Linked DNA regions of Homo sapiens: region 1 is linked to region 2. The links are contacts of gene promoters, found by promoter capture Hi-C in human tissues and cell types (Jung and others, 2019). All regions are on one chromosome and are shown on one strand. Each heading gives the region's core, a stretch centred on a gene start or on the middle of the fragment in contact. The rest is flanking DNA. Distances are from core to core; before and after follow the strand shown. Region 1 overlaps MAD1L1 (mitotic arrest deficient 1 like 1). Region 2 holds the start of CHST12 (carbohydrate sulfotransferase 12).

Region 1 (3,312 bases), core at 205-2,704, 370 kb after region 2:
GGCAGGAGAATCGCTTGAACCCGGGAGACAAAGGTTGCTGTGAGCCTAGATCACACCATTGCACTCCAGCCTGGGCGACAGCGAGACTCCGTCTCCAAAAAAAAAAAAAAGGAGACTCTTTATTGGAAATTTAGCTTTGTTTTTAATTTTTTCATGATTATTGCTAATGTGTGCAACATCCTTGGACTCAGTGCTTTCCCCATATCTGATTCATTTGTTATTTATTTATTTGTTTAGACACAGGGTCTTGCTCTGTCGCCCAGGCTGCAATGTGGTGGCGCCATCTTGGCTCACTGCAGTCTTGAACTCCAGGGCTCAATATATCCTCCTGCCTGAGCCTCCCCAGTAGCTGGGACTATAGGTGCATGCCGCCCCGCCTGGCTAATTAAAAAAAAATTTTTTTTGTAGAGATGGGGTCTCACTATGTTGCCCAGGCTGGTCTCAGGTGATTCTCCTGCCTCGGCCTCTCACAGTGCTGGGATTGCAGGTGTGAGCCACCGCAGTCTGATTACTTTTTAGGCAATTGTTACTGAGTGGAAGGGTGTGAACACCTTCAGGACCCTTGGCCAGTTTTGCTGACTCGTTTTCCAGAAGCGCCCGTGACTGCTGTCCCAGCAGGTGTAGCGTGCAGCCCTCATGGCCTCACTCGTGCTGAGTGTTAGCATTTTACTTCTTGCCACTCCAGGTGAGGAACGGGTCTTAATGAATTTTGTGTTTGTCAGTTACGTTTCTTCTGTTGATTGTTGATTTTTCCCAGTTTTCTATTACCGTGTTAGTGATTTTCCTATTGATTTGTAAAAGGTTTTCATGTATTTGTGGCACGTTTTCCCCAGTTTGTCTTTTACCTTTTGTGTTTTTAAGTGGCGTTTTGGGACCCACGGAGGTGTTGGTGTGGCGAAGCGTGCTGGTCTTTCTCTGTCATTCCTTCCACTGCTTCGGGGCCCACAGCCTTTCAGGGCCTTGCTCCATGGAGTATCCATCTTGTTTCCTTTAGTTCTAGTGCAGTGAAGCAGGCGAGGGCAGGGGTGACCGGGTCATCTGGGCTGGTTCAAACTGGGGCTCCGCACCCAGGTGTTCTGTGCCCCCGGGGTGCGTTACTCACACCTGCAGCACCCGGGCTGTCTCTGTGAGAATGGGATGATCGAAGGGCCCACCTCCTGGCCAGCACAGGGCCTGGCACGTGGTGCCTGGCTGGCGAGTGTATGAGTGGGGTGCTGGGCTGGGAGCGTGAGCTCTCGGAGTTCTGCGTCTGTTTATCATGGCCAGTCAGTGGCAGCGTCAGCTGGGTGTCCTCAGCCCACGCTGCTGTACCCCAAGAAGGCAGTAGACACGTGATACCAGTGGGCTGGGGGCATCTTCTCAGCTGGTGCCCTCTCCACGTCCTTCTGCGGGGGCGCCTTGCCCCCCTGCCCCATGCACACTCTCCCTGTGTGCAGAGTGGGTCTTCCTTCCTGGTGTGGGGCTCCCTGAGTGCCCTGCCTGTCCTCGCCTGTTCTTACAGTGCTCACGTCTGCCTCCCTCTCCAGGCTGAGTTCTGGGAGAGCAGGCCGGCGCCACCCCCCTCACCACTTGCTAGGAGCTGGCCTGACCCTGGTGGGAGCCCACAGCCCTGGGCGCGAATTCAAAATGCCAGAAGCAGCACAGGGTCCCTCGAGCCTGGTGGGAGGTACTTCCCATGGGCGAGTCATCTTGTTTTGAATTCTCCTCATGCTGATTTCTGGCCCCACTCAGCCCAGCACAGCTCTGAAGGAGACGAAGGCAAGGCCAGCTCTCCCCAGCTGAGATGAGCTTTCAGTTGAGGAAGGACCCTGATGTCAGAGCTGTTTGGGTAATGGCCTGCCCCTGGCCATGGATGTGCACCAAATCTTTTCAGGACTCGTGGGGTCACTGCTGCCCGGGGGCTTTAGGTAGCTATTAGAGCCCAGGGCTGGGCAAGCGCTTTCCCACCTGCCCGTTAGCATGATGGCCAAGAGCCCAGGCTCGGCTTCACGGAGGCTGGAGACCTGGGGCGCGCGCCTTCCCCTGGAGCCTTGTCCTCATCTGAAAGGGAGGACTCCAGCCTGCCTCAGGAGGTGGTTCCGAGGACTGATTGGCTGATGGTTTCACTCGTTCATTTTTTAATTGAACACACAGTTCCTGAGCACCTGTTCTGTTCCAGGCACTGGACAGGGACTGGGGCCGGGCGTCCCGCATGAATGAGGGGTCAGGGAGCTGATGCATGGAAACTCCTTGGCACAAGGCCCGGAGTGTGCCTGGCACCCTGGGCACTGGCTGCCTGCCTGTTACCCGTCGGTGGAGAAAGCCACCTAGACTTTGCAGCACTGTAAGATTTTTGAACTGTAGAAGACCAAGTCCATCTAATTCCCTGTTTTGCTGATAGGAACGCTGGAGGCCTAGAGAGGAAAGGAACCCGTCTGACTGCTCAGGCTGAGTAGTGGCCCCAGAGCCGTGACTCCACTGTGCTGTCTGTTTCCCACGTTGCCCTGCTCTCCTTTCTCCCTGTCCTGTCAAATAAACTGCACTCAAAATAGAGCCATGCGGCACAGGGCCTGTCTCAGGCCCATGGCCCCATATCCGCGTGGGTCAGGCATGCTGGCGAGACCTTGCGAGGGTCACGTCCTCCTCCCTGGTGAGGGGCCGTCTGCAGCCACTGTGGCTTGGGTATGGCTTCCTGTCAGGATGGTCCCAGTGCCCTCCCAGATGTGCACGGCACCCACGTCGTCATAGCGCAGGTGTGAGCAGCTGCTGTAACAAGGCTGGTGCTGGTTCAGGTGGATGCTGGGGAATGCATTTATACAGCGAACACAAATGAAGTGGAATTTGTCATAGAGCAGTGTGAAATGTAAGTAAAATTGCCTCGGGAAATCATAATTGATTCCACTCCTTCCTACAATAGGTGTTGTAGAGCTTTTTATCAGAGGTTGAAATTGTAAAAACCAGGCTTGCTGGTGGGGAGCCCAGAACAGCCCCTTTTCCCCCTCCCCCACAGCTACACGTGGGTGGTGGAGGCCAGTGGGGAGGGTGTGACGGCAGGAAGCCAGAGGAGGAGCTGGCTGAGGGTAACCCCAAGACAGCTGTGGGGCAGGGAAGGGAGCGTGCTCTGTGTGCCTGGTGCAGCTGCAGGCAGAGGGGTGAGTAGTGGGAGAGGACCCCGTGCTTCCTCTCTGAGCGGCCTGGTGTTCAGCCTCCTGCTGCCTTCAGGAGAGCTCGCGTAGGTGCAGTTCATGGAGAATGCACAGCTGGCTGCTGGAGGGAGGATGCTGCTGAAGGCTGGGGACCGTTTTTTCTCCTGGGGGCTCCTCCGAATCCAGT
Region 2 (3,363 bases), core at 181-2,680:
CCCAATTCATAGGTCCTCTCCACTGTGGAAAATGTCGGAAAATGTCGCCACATTCTGTTAACGCCTGCACCACAGTCTCAACTCCACACAGTTGTAGCCAGGCTGGCCGTGAGCTCCCAGGGCAAGGCCCACGCTATTACCGGCATCTACCCCAGCTTAGCATCTTGCACTCGATTGGAGGTTTGATAATAAAGCTGGAGTCAGCTGAGTGACAGCAGACAGTTACTGCTGGCCCCAAAGCGTCAGCCCAAAGTCCCATAAACTCCTTTGCAGGGAAATCAAACATCTATGCCATTCCAGGCAGGTGCTCTTTCAGATCTCAAGCGTTGCACCTTCGTGTAGCAATCTCCTCATTACCCCTGTTTTCTCTCCATCCTCACTCAGACACCAGCCCTGACTCCCAACACCAGATGCTCACGGTGAGGGGCTAACCCGGGTCCCCGCGTGGGGGTAAGTGGGGGACCCGCTGAGCTGTCCCCAACCACCCACAGCCGGGAACAGCACCGTAGGGCCTGGTGTCCTGGAAGATGTACTGCGTCCAGCACCGCGCCTGCAACTCACATTCCTATTCACCCCGGGGCTTCCGAGTCCCCACAGCCCCGCTTATGAACTAAATAATTTAATAATGCTGGAAACACTATGGCTTGTTGTGCTGCCTGCCAGACGGAGCCTCTGCCCGAGCCAAGGCTTTGCCGGCGGTGTCTCGGTGGCCGGGAGCCCGCAGAGGAGGTCTAAGTCCCACTGTTCCCGGACTAAATGCACGGTTTCCTCTCCCAGAGGGGCAGGGCTGCGGCTTCTGGAGTGAGAGGTCATTTAAGGGATACCCTGAGCGACCTGCCGGTGCTGCTGGCGTCTGCAGGCTCCAGGGCTGCGGTCGGCGGGGCCGGGGAGCCCCGTTCAGGTGACAGCAGGCACACGGGGGCCCTCGGGAGCTGGGGATCCTGGAACTCCAAGCCCGGGAATTGGTCCTACCCCTGCCGGGCGGCAGAGGCTGATGCCGGGCAGGGGGACTCCTGGGGGCCGGCGGGGCCGCTGCAGCCTCTGCTGTCGCTGAATCAGAACCACAGATTTCTCGTCCAGACCCCGAGGAGCCGCAGAACGCGCTGATCAGGGCCCCAGGGCTGGGTCCCCCTGGCCGAGGACGACGAGCGGGGCTCAGAGAGGGCGCGCGCAGGGCCAAGGTCACACTGCGCGCCGGCGCGGGAACTCGAACCCAGGCCCAAGCCGCGCCCGCCAGGCCAGGTTAAGGAGAGCCGACCCGCGCCCCTCAGCGCGGCCCGGGACCCCCGCCCGGGCCCTGGGAGCCCAGCACTGGCCGAGAGAGAGGGAGACCGCGCCCCGAGCCCGCCGCCCGCCGCGCCCCTCACCTCGCGACCCTCACCTCGCGCCCCTCACCTCGCGCCCGCAGCCGCCGCCGCCGCCCCGCGACTAGCGGACCCCCCAGAGGCAGCCCTCGCCGGCCCCGCCCCCGGCGCAGGAGCCCCTCCTACCGGTCGTCTTCTCGCGAGACGTCGCGGCCGCCGGAGGGGCCACGGAGGCCGAGGGGCGCCCGCCCTCAGCGCGCCTGCGCCCGGCCAGCCCGCCCGCCCCCGCCCTCGCGAGCCAGTGCCATGTGGCGCCGTATTTACGGCCAGAGATCGACTCCGCCCACCGGCCGCCACGAGCCACGCCCCTTTCTCAGCAGCCAATCCGCGGCGTTGACTCCGCCCCGGCGGACCGGGCGCGCGGCGGCTCGGGGACGCGCAGCTGTCTCGCCGTTCGACCCGGGAGCTCCACGTTGCAGCCAAACACGATCCCGTTAACCAACCTTTATGCAGTGCCTGTTGTCTATCCGACCCTTTCTCGAGCATCGGCTCATTGGCAAAGGATCGTGATGCTCACCGGCTGGGGCTTGAGACTCGCTGTGTGACCTTGGGCAAGTGACTTAACCTCTCTGAGGTTGTCGCCAATCCGTAAAATATAATAGGTTAGTGACCCTACCTTTCAGGGAGTATGTGAGACAAACGAGATGACACGGGTAAAGAGCTTAGCAAGATGCCTAATGCATAGTGAGCATGCAGTAATTGTTCTTGGCATCAATGTAGTTTTGTGTGTTTGTTTGTTTATTTTTTTAGAGACAGGATCTCACCGTGTCGTCCAGGATGGGGTGCAGCGGTGCAGTCACAGCTCACTGCAGCCTCGACCTCCTGGGTTCAAGCCATCCTCCCACCTCAGCCTCCCAAGTAGATGGAACTACAGACAGGTGCCACCACACCCGGCTAATTTTTAATTTTTAATAGAAACGGGGGTCTCACTATGTTGCCCAGGGTGGTCTTGAACCCCTAGACTCAAGCAATCCTCCTGCCTCAGCCTCCCAGAGCTCTGGGATTACAGGCGTGAGCCACCGCGCCAGGCCCAGTCATTTTTTTTTTAAATTATGGTAAAATATATAGAACATAAAATTTACCATCTTAACCTTTGTTGTTGTTGTTGTTGTTGTTGTTGTCGTTGTTGTTGTTGTTGAGACAGAGTCTCGCTCTGTCGCCCAGGCTGGAATACAGTGGCCCGATCTCGGCTCACTGCAAGCTCCGCCTCCCGGGTTCACGCCATTCTCCTGCCTCAGCCTCCCGGGTAGCTGGGACTTACAGGCGCCCGCCACCACGCCCGGCTAATTTTTTGTATTTTTAGTAGAGACGGGGTTTCACCGTGTTAGCCAGGATGGTCTCGAACTCCTGACCTCGTGATCCGCCCGCCTCGGCCTCCCAAAGTGCTGGGATTACAGGCGTGAGCCGCCGCGCCCGGCCCATCTTAACCATTTTTAAGCACTCCCTGCAGTGGCATTAAGCACTTTCACATCCCCACCATCCACCCCAAGAACTTTTTCAATCCGTGATATTTTTAGTTGGCCCCCTCCGATGGACTCCCGAGGCAGCCTTCCAACCAAGGTCATCTCTTCACTCTTCCACTCCCTGCAGCCAGTCCCAAAGGAGTTCCGAACCCACCGGGCCCTGGAAATGTGGAAGTGAGGGAGACGGGCAAGGCCCCTGCCCTCCTGTATTCTAGTGGGGGGGAAAAGCAACAAACAACCACCACAAAATATATGTGTATATTATATACACACTCACAGTAGATAATATGTTTATACGTATGTGTAATGCATACATGTTACCTATGTGTATGTATGTAGTATATATGTTTATATATTGTACACATACATATAGACCTGTATTATGCATGTATAATATGTCTATGTTGTATACATACATATATGCAATTGCACGTATGTAAATAAGGTGACAGCCTCTGGCAATGTCACCCTGTGATGCCTGTCTCAGCTTAGAAATTTCTCACTATCAGCCGTGTGCAGTGGCTCACACCTGTAAT

What was found. The method cuts DNA at HindIII sites, captures the fragments that hold promoters and counts their contacts. A contact is called where the count stands out against the background at its distance.
Region 1: a contact is called between a fragment that was not itself captured here and the fragment with the promoter of CHST12 in region 2, in 1 of the 25 tissues and cell types used here (dorsolateral prefrontal cortex).

The regions. Positions count from the first base shown.
Region 1 is chr7:2,031,020-2,034,331 of GRCh38, reverse strand. All of the region lies in intron 12 of MAD1L1 (mitotic arrest deficient 1 like 1), which reads left to right. Among named protein-coding and RNA genes, the nearest start is that of SNORA114, 56 kb to the left of the region's middle. RefSeq lists enhancers at 877-1,556, 2,239-2,920. The HindIII fragment of the contact is 6,845 bases long and covers 1-3,312 here.
Region 2 is chr7:2,401,678-2,405,040 of GRCh38, reverse strand. It overlaps CHST12 (carbohydrate sulfotransferase 12), which reads right to left and starts at 1,430. Exons shown (of 2, transcript NM_018641.5): 1 at 1,368-1,430. RefSeq lists silencers at 1,134-1,303, 1,394-1,763 and an enhancer at 1,854-1,953. The HindIII fragment of the contact is 33,157 bases long and covers 1-3,363 here.